3 separate regions of the Homo sapiens genome follow, and regions 2 and 3 are each linked to region 1. The links are contacts of gene promoters, found by promoter capture Hi-C in human tissues and cell types (Jung and others, 2019). All regions are on one chromosome and are shown on one strand. Each heading gives the region's core, a stretch centred on a gene start or on the middle of the fragment in contact. The rest is flanking DNA. Distances are from core to core; before and after follow the strand shown.

Region 1 (2,701 bases), core at 125-2,624:
AGTTTTGATAAATATACCATGGTCATGTAAAATACTAACACTAGTGGAATCTGGGTGAAAGGCATATAGGAACTATTTTGCAACTCTTCTGTAAATCTGAAATTATGAGCAAATGAAAAGTTTAAAAAAGTGGACAATGACCCAGGAGTTGATTTTTTAAATGAAAAGTTGTAACACACGCACATGCTCATAGTGTGCTGAAAATGCCAGATGTGCACGTAAAAGAATGTACGTGTAGTGTAGTTCTGGGTAAAGTATGGTTGGTTTTGGGAAATGAGTGCGTGCTTTCTTCTTCAAATTTGTTACTCAAACGGCTTTTTTTTTTTTAAACATATAAACAATTTTATGTTTGGGTCTTGAATTGCTAGCTTCTGTTTTTCCTTATTCCAGAGAATAACCATACTGGTCACAGATTTTAGTTTTCTCTTCCAGTCTTTCAGTTAAACGTTACCATGCATGATCGTGAATGAATTCAAGCACACCTTTCCTTCTCTTGGCTTGTGTCTAACAGGCACATTGATTTGATCCACAACCTCTGGGGACACTGACAGAATCCTGGTTCCAAGCAGGAGTGGGTAACTGAGACAGTAATCTCTCAACCCACTATACAAGGCTGTTTTGCAGGAGAGCCTTATGATGACCAGCATGATATATAATTGTGAGAAATATACTGAACAATTTATGTGTCAGACACCGGTTTAAATGCTTTTACAACGTAAGCGCCTCCAATTCTCATAAAACCCCTGCTAGGTAGGCACTATCAGCCTCATTTTACAACTGAGGGTTGCGGCCAGAGCTGACAGGCACCGTCTAGCGCCGCTTCCAAGCCCCGCATCGCATCCACCAGCCTAACTCGGGCGCTCGGCCTCTCCCTCTGCGCATGTGCATCCCCGCCTCCCGCTCCAGGCGAGTCCTTCCCTGGACTCCAGTCCCTTGTGGGAAACAATCCCTCGCCTCCGGAGGCGGCGAGGAGCGGCGGGTGAGCCCCGGAGCACTGGGCGAGGGCCAGGGGGTCCCCGCGCTGCCCTGAAGGCGGGCGGGCGGCGGCTAGACCTCGGCGGTGGGGAGGGACCCCTGGCGCCTGCGGCGACGGTGGGACGAGGGCGTCTCTGTCAGAAGGGGATGAGGTCTGGCGTGGGAACGCGAGTTCCGGGGCTCCCGGGGGTCCGTATGCGTCCAGTCCCTGCGCCTGGCGCTCAGCGAAGTCCTGTAGCACGGGGTAGGCAATGCGCACTGGCCCGAAGGGGAGGGAACTGGCTGCGGGGAGGGGACAGCACGCGCGTGCGTAGCGTGTGACGTTTGTTGTGCGCGTGCGCATGGCGTTTGATGTGTGCGTGTGCGCTTTTTGTGCCCTGAGCCCGCGGGGAGGAGGCGGGGCTGCGGGGGAGAGCGACTGCGCCAGGTCCGCGACAAATGAATTAGACACAATTATCCACGGGAGACTCGGTTTTCCTCTCTGTAAATTACGGATATTAGGAATACTTGCCGCCTGGGGTTGTTTTGAGCACTTTCATTGTTTAGGTGCTGTATTTATTGGGTGTGCGTTCCCTGGGAGAGCCCGAGGGAGACGGCTCCTGCACCGGCCCCAAGGGCCTCTCTGCCCGTGGAGTGCAGGAGCGAAGGGGCTGGCCTAGCTGACCACCAGGGCCCCTGCTGGCTCTGACCGCCCTCCTATCCCAAGTAATTATTTACACGTTTCGCGTTCGCTTATGTATTATGTGTAATCATGGCACAGTATCCTGAAGCCGTCGGAGTCTGTGTGCTGGTGCAAGGTCTGGGACAAATTTAAGAAGAGAGAGGTGAGCTGGAGCTGAGGGGTGGGCGCGCAGGCTAACAGGAACGTCACCTCTGGAGAGTCTGAGGGCAGGGACGGGTGAAAGGCTCACGGCCACAGCGAAAGAAATGCTGTTATCACCCCTCCGCGAACACCGGGCACATCCAGATGAGCTGCTGAGCTTCCTCCTCTCTTGGCCTGATATCCCCGCCGGATGGTAGTGCAGTCAGGTCATACTTGGGTTATCTGTTTTGACCTTATTTGAAAGATGGAAAAACAAAATTGAGTTTGAGGAGGTGAGTAGTTCAGATCTTGTCATTCCTTAGAGGCAGAACTGAGATTAGAAGTCAAGTCTGCAGTTTCCCGAGCCACTGCTGCCCATTTTGTTACTCTATATCACAGTTTCTCATTAAAAGATCCTTTTGAGGAATTGTTAGCAAGTTAGAACAAACATTTTTAAACTTGCATTTAACATCCTATCCCTTTTTTTAGAGGTCTTTTGCATTATCTAACCTCAGGGCATTAATGGTGTTAACAGGTAAACAGATAAACAATATGGCCTCAGTTTTTTTTTTTCCCTACAAGGAATTTTGACAAACCCATAGTGTTTTTTCCTTCAGATTACTGTTAACTTGTTAAACTCATCTTTTCATGTTTTTAATTTTTCTGTGTCACAGAACCTAAATTGGTAATAAATCAATAAGAAATATTTACATTCACTCAGTGAAAAGTGTCATGTCTGAGCTCAGCATATATCGGAGCCACACATGGACACGTAAGTATCTTGTGTGTGGACCTGTATAGGCAGGTGAATCTCCGAACTGCAAGGCCGGCGAAGGCTCTCCTGACATTCTTCCTTTCTAATCCTTCAGCTCTCCTTCCTCCACTAAGAGCGGAAAATGAACAAATCCCAGGTGAGATTCTTGT
Region 2 (2,701 bases), core at 60-2,559, 310 kb before region 1:
TTCCTGGAAATCTCCAGACACACACCAGTGTTCTGAACTGCAGGCTGCTGCCCCATCCTATGGCAGAATAGACCTTTTCTCCACCAGAATTGCCCTGTTATCCAGTTGAACGAAATGTCTTTTTAACATAGAAACAGGGCACAGAAACTAGTGTTCCTTGGCTCTGAACCCCATCACACTATCTGCAGGTAAACACCCGTCCTTAGCAAATACCATACATTTGAGAACTCAGTCCCTGGAGTGTGGTCATTGGCTCTGCTTTCAGAAAACATCAAGGTACTTTTGGCAGCTCTGCAGATTTCATGAAGAAAAGCAAAAACATAAAACCAACTGATGAACACACACACACACACACACACACACACACACACCCCGCAAAGTGACTAACAGGATGTCCCTCCAGGACATTTGCAGAGAGGGGAGCAGAAAACATCCCAGGGCCCTTTCACAGCTACTTCCTTGAGCCCATTTTCAGACAGTGCTGTCTAGACCTGTCTCAGCCCAAGCACCTGGCAGTATTCAGGAGCTGGCTCCCTTACCTGAAATTCAACATCAAGAAATGATCTCTTGGCTGGGAGTGGTGGCTCACGCCTATAATCCCAGCATTTTGGGAGGCTGAGGCGGGTGGATTGCCTGAGGTCAGAAGTTCGAGACCAGCCTGTCCGACATGGTGAAACCTCACCTCTACTAAAAATACAAAAACTAGCCGGGCATGTTGGTGTGCCCCTGTAATCCCAGCTACTCGGGAGGCTGAGGCAGGAGAATCACTTGAACCCGGGAGGCAGAGGTTGCAGTGAGCCGAGACTAGGCCATTGCTCTCTAGCCTAGGCAACAAGAGCAAAACTCTGTCTAAACAAAAAAAAAAAAGAAAGAAAAAGAAAAGAAACAATCTCTTCTACTTAACATTGACAGGAATGTCCTCAAGCAGTGTCCTCATTGGCAGGGGTGGAGAGTTTCTTAAAAAGTGAGGTCTCTGCCCACCACCTAGAGAACCTGGAAATTTCCATCAATGCCACAAAGTCCAAATCACTGGATACTGCTCCAATGTATGGCAGATTAGACCATCTCTCCATTAGATCTGGGTTTCTATTCCATTGAATGAAATGGCTTTTCTATTACTGTGTCAGGATAAGGGAGAAAAAGGGTTTTACAACTGAACTCCAGTGTACAGTCTGCACAGACACAAGGCTTGTGCAAATATGACACAGTAAGGCCCCAGGACCCTTGAGCCAGCTGAATGCACTGAGTTTCAGGAAACAGATACATTCAGCAAAACAGTGGGCTTCATGCTGAAAGAAATCAAGCCAAGAACACACACATCACTCTGACACACACACACACACACACACACACACACACACAGACACATATTCAGACACCTTAGTGGCCAATAGGTCCTCTCACCAGGAACCCGCAGACAGGAGAGCAGAAAGCCTCCCAGGGGTCCATTACTGCACTTTCTGGGAAGCTTTATCAGATGGCCAGCCCTAGGACAGCATTGTCTTATCCTCATCCAGCACAAACTGCCATCACCCTCTGATGTGAGAGCTGGCCTCCTCAGCAGAACCTCTGTCAGATAAATTTCTTTTTTTTAAATCATGAGGGGGAAACTTCAGACAGTGTCTTGATCAGGGTGGGTGGAGAGGGGGGTTTCCTAGAAAGGCAGGGCAGGGCTGAAGCCCTCTGGGTTAGCTGTGGGCTTTTGATATAAAGGCAGATAAGACTGGACAGGTGGGGGAGTTAGCGAGGGGATGGACTGGGGTGTGCTGAAGAACTCCAGTTGGGAGGGTTCTGTTGCTATAACAGAGTTCCTGAACCTAGGTAACTCATAAAGAACAGAAATTTATTCTCTCACAGTTCCGCAGGCTGGGAAGTCCAAAATCAAGAGGCCTCTGGAGAGGGTATTCCTACTACATTCTCACATGGAGGTAGGTGAAAGGGAGAGAGGATGGATGTGATGTGCTCACATGACAGAAGAGTGACAAAAAGTAAACCCAATCCATCAAGCCTTTTTTATACTTATATAAGACATAACTATTTTATATGTATATAAAAAGTAACATCCCCCTCATCTACTGCAGGGTAGTAGATAACACCCACATATGGGAAATGCAGAATAGATAAATAATTTATTCTTTCTTTTATCAGTTTTCCAAATAAAAAGTGCCTTTTTGACCTAAACACCTCCATTAGGCTGCAGCTCCCAACACTGCTGTCTTAGGGATTAGAGTTCTAACAGATACATTTTGAGGGATACATTAAGACCATAGCAATTGTAAAACCAAAGAGTATCTGAGCCAGGTCTCAATCAGTGTAGAAGTTTATTTTGCCAAGGTTAAGAACATGCCCAGGAGAAATAAACACAGAATCACAGACACAGTCTGTGGTCTGTGATTTTTCTCTAAAGATGATTTTGAGGGCTTCAATATTTAAAAAGGAAAAGTGACCTAGAGAGGAAACAGGAAGTGTGTGGTGATCCTCATGTTGCAAGAGAAAAGGAGCACGTAGGGAAATAGTCAATTATGTACTGATCTTATGCTCAATAAATCAGCACTTGATTAGATAAGATGAACAGGGTAGCTACCTGTGGAAATGTTTAAACTTTTATCTGTAACTGCTTACAAAGCCAAGGAAAGGCAGCTTCTTTCATGACTCAGCTTTCAGCTTAATTTTTTTCTTTTGGCATAGGAAATTGGGGTCC
Region 3 (2,701 bases), core at 115-2,614, 260 kb before region 1:
GTTCTGTGAAACCGGAGTAGTAGCAGAAAAATTTTCCACACTGAATACATTCATAAGGTTTCTCACCTGTGTGAGTTCTTAGATGTTTAGTAAGGGTTGACTTCTCAGAGAATGACTTCCCACATTCATTACATTCATAAGGTTTTTCACCTGTGTGTATTCTTTGATGTTTAATGAGGTCTGATTTTCTGAGAAAGGCTTTCCCACATGCATAGCATTCATAGGGCTTCTCCCCTGTGTGTGTTTTCTGATGCACAGTAAGGACTGACTTAAATGAGAAGGTTTTCCCACATTCATGACATTCATATGGTTTCTCCCCTGTGTGCGTTCTTTGATGTTGAGTAAGGGTTGACTTTTCACTGAAGGATTTCCCACATTCATGACATCCATAAGGTCTCTCCCCTGTATGAATTCTTTGATGTTTAATGAGGTCTGAATTCTTATAGAAGGTCTTCCCACATTCATGACATTCATAGGGTTTTCCCCCTGTGTGTGTTCTCTGATGTCTTGTGTGGGCTGACTTCTGGGTGAAGGTTTTTCCACATTCATGACATTCATAAGGTTTTTCTCCTGTATGTGTTCTCTGTTGTAAATGAAGGACTAATTTTTCACTGAAAAATGTTCCACACTCATTATATTCAATAATATTGTTAATTGAGTGGGTTCTCTGAATTGGAGTGAGATTTAACTTCTGGCTGAATGGGTAAACACTCTGATGTTCAAGGAGAATGGATTCCTCAAAGATATTTTCTCCACATTCATTACCATAGTGGTTTTCTCTTGGATGTGTTTGCTGATGAGTGATGAAAAATGACATATCACAGGTTTTCCCATGTTCAGTATATTTGCAGGTTTTCTGTCCTGTGTAACCTCTCTTATGTACAAGGAAGAGTGAATTCTCAGGGAAAGCTTTCCCACATTCATTGTATTCAAAAGATTGTTCCCAATTTTTAATTTTCTGATGCCAAATGAGGTCTTCATTCAGCCAGAAGCTGTTCCCATTTTTATTATATTCAGAAGGTTCCTCTTCAGAATGAATTATTTCATGCTTTTCATCACAGAAACATTTTCCACCTTTGTTAAACTCATTGAACTTCATTATTGAATAGTTTCTACTGGTATTAATTAATTCTGAAATACAGAGTGAAAAGAAAGGTTAGTTGACGAGGATATGTAAGAGAAATAAACTTAGCATTATATTTGAAGGCATGGCTCAGTTTAGGCCATTATCTCCTCATACCTATGTTATGACAATGTGCACACTTCCAGTCTTATACCTCTTTTCAAGTCAACACAGCAGCAACAAATTAAATTTCTAAAAGTTCTAATTCATAGTCCTATAATCCAGGCTCCAATTCTGTGTGGTTTTGTTGTTCTTGGTTGTTGTTGGTGGTGGTGGTGGTGGTGTTTTTGAGACAGAGTCTTGCTCTGTCATCCAGGCTGGAGTGTAGTGACGTGATCTCGGCTCACTGCAATCTCCGCTTCCTGGGTTCAAGTGATTCCCATGCCTCAACCTCCCAAGTAGCTGGGACTACAGGCATACGCAACCATGCTTGGCTAGTTTTTATGTTTTTAGTAGAGACAGGATTTTGCCATGTTAGCCAGGCTGGTCTTGAACTCCTAGCCTCAAACAATTCATCCACACTGGCCTTCCAAAGTGCTGGGATTACAGGCATGAGCCACTGCACCTGGCTCAATTGTTTTTCTAGCTCTGATTCACTAGAAATAAAAGTATGCAACAATAAGAGTGAAATCAGTGAGTGAACAAGCCATCCTTGCCACAGGATCAGGTTTATGGTTCTATTCCAGCTGTGGGATTTGCCCTTTATTTCATCAACTGTCCTATACTATACTGAGTCCAATGTCCCAAGAACAAACACTTTTTTTTTAAACAAGGTATCACTGAAGTAAACATATCTTTACATTTAGATTCAGATTAGAACCAAGCCATTCTTTTACAAGTCTAGAGTGAATATATTTCGCTCTAGGTAAGTTCAGCTGTTTGTCCCTCATAAATTGCTCATTCCCATCATAATCTCATACTGATTGTTTTTCCATTGTCAGTTTGCAGTCTAACAGTGTTTTTAAAAAGTTTCCTTCCCAAATTTCCCAGGTTCATTTACTAAAAAACATGAAAGGACTGTTTTTATAATTCATTTAAGCACAAACATCAGCTGGATTGCTATAACAATATTCTTTGTTAAACACTGAATTTTAAAATATTTCATGCAGTTCTGTTTTTGTTCAACAACTATGTTCCTGGCAGCCATTACTTTACCTATGATTTTCTCTCAGTGCCCTATATAGATATTTAAATCAATGGTACTTAACAAATAATGTTTATCAGTATTATCCGGAGAGCTTTTTCAAACACAAATTTTTTCAGGCTTCACGCTGAAATCGTTACTGGTTGAATGTGTAATTTTAATTTTAATTGCTTTTTATTTTTTAGAGACAGAATCTTGCTCTGTCACCCAGGCTGCAGTGCAATGGCACAAACACAGTTAACTGCAGCCTCTTCCCAGGCTAAAGCAAGACTGTCACCTCAGCTCCCCAGTAGCTGAGATCACAAAAATTAGCCAGGCATGGGACCACAGGTGTGTGCCACCATGCCTGGCTAATTTTTTAAGTTTTCATAGAGATGGGGTCTTCTTATTTTGCCCAGGCTGGTCTCAAATTCCTGGGCTGAAGTGATCCTCCC

Evidence for each region. Contacts are between HindIII fragments. The study calls those that stand out against the background at their distance.
Region 2: a contact is called between a fragment that was not itself captured here and the fragment with the promoter of ZNF248 in region 1, in 1 of the 25 tissues and cell types used here (spleen).
Region 3: a contact is called between a fragment that was not itself captured here and the fragment with the promoter of ZNF248 in region 1, in 2 of the 25 tissues and cell types used here (H1 embryonic stem cells and mesendoderm cells).

What each region holds. Positions count from the first base shown.
Region 1 is chr10:37,856,283-37,858,983 of GRCh38, reverse strand. It overlaps ZNF248 (zinc finger protein 248), which reads left to right and starts at 1,374. Exons shown (of 6, transcript NM_021045.3): 1 at 1,374-1,799; 2 at 2,452-2,549; 3 at 2,647-2,688. The coding sequence starts at 2,674. It overlaps ZNF248-AS1 (ZNF248 antisense RNA 1), which reads right to left and starts at 1,235. Exons shown (of 2, transcript NR_186559.1): 1 at 483-1,235. RefSeq lists silencers at 882-1,431, 1,128-1,504 and an enhancer at 1,822-1,881. The HindIII fragment of the contact is 12,949 bases long and covers 1-2,701 here.
Region 2 is chr10:38,163,576-38,166,276 of GRCh38, reverse strand. LOC105376500 (a long non-coding RNA gene) reads left to right here. Exons shown (of 3, transcript XR_930832.3): 2 at 1,858-1,928. Among named protein-coding and RNA genes, the nearest start is that of ZNF37A, 71 kb to the right of the region's middle. The HindIII fragment of the contact is 4,379 bases long and covers 1-2,701 here.
Region 3 is chr10:38,115,820-38,118,520 of GRCh38, reverse strand. ZNF37A (zinc finger protein 37A) reads right to left here. Exons shown (of 8, transcript NM_001324250.3): 8 at 1-1,131. Among named protein-coding and RNA genes, the nearest start is that of ZNF37A, 23 kb to the right of the region's middle. The HindIII fragment of the contact is 8,527 bases long and covers 1-2,701 here.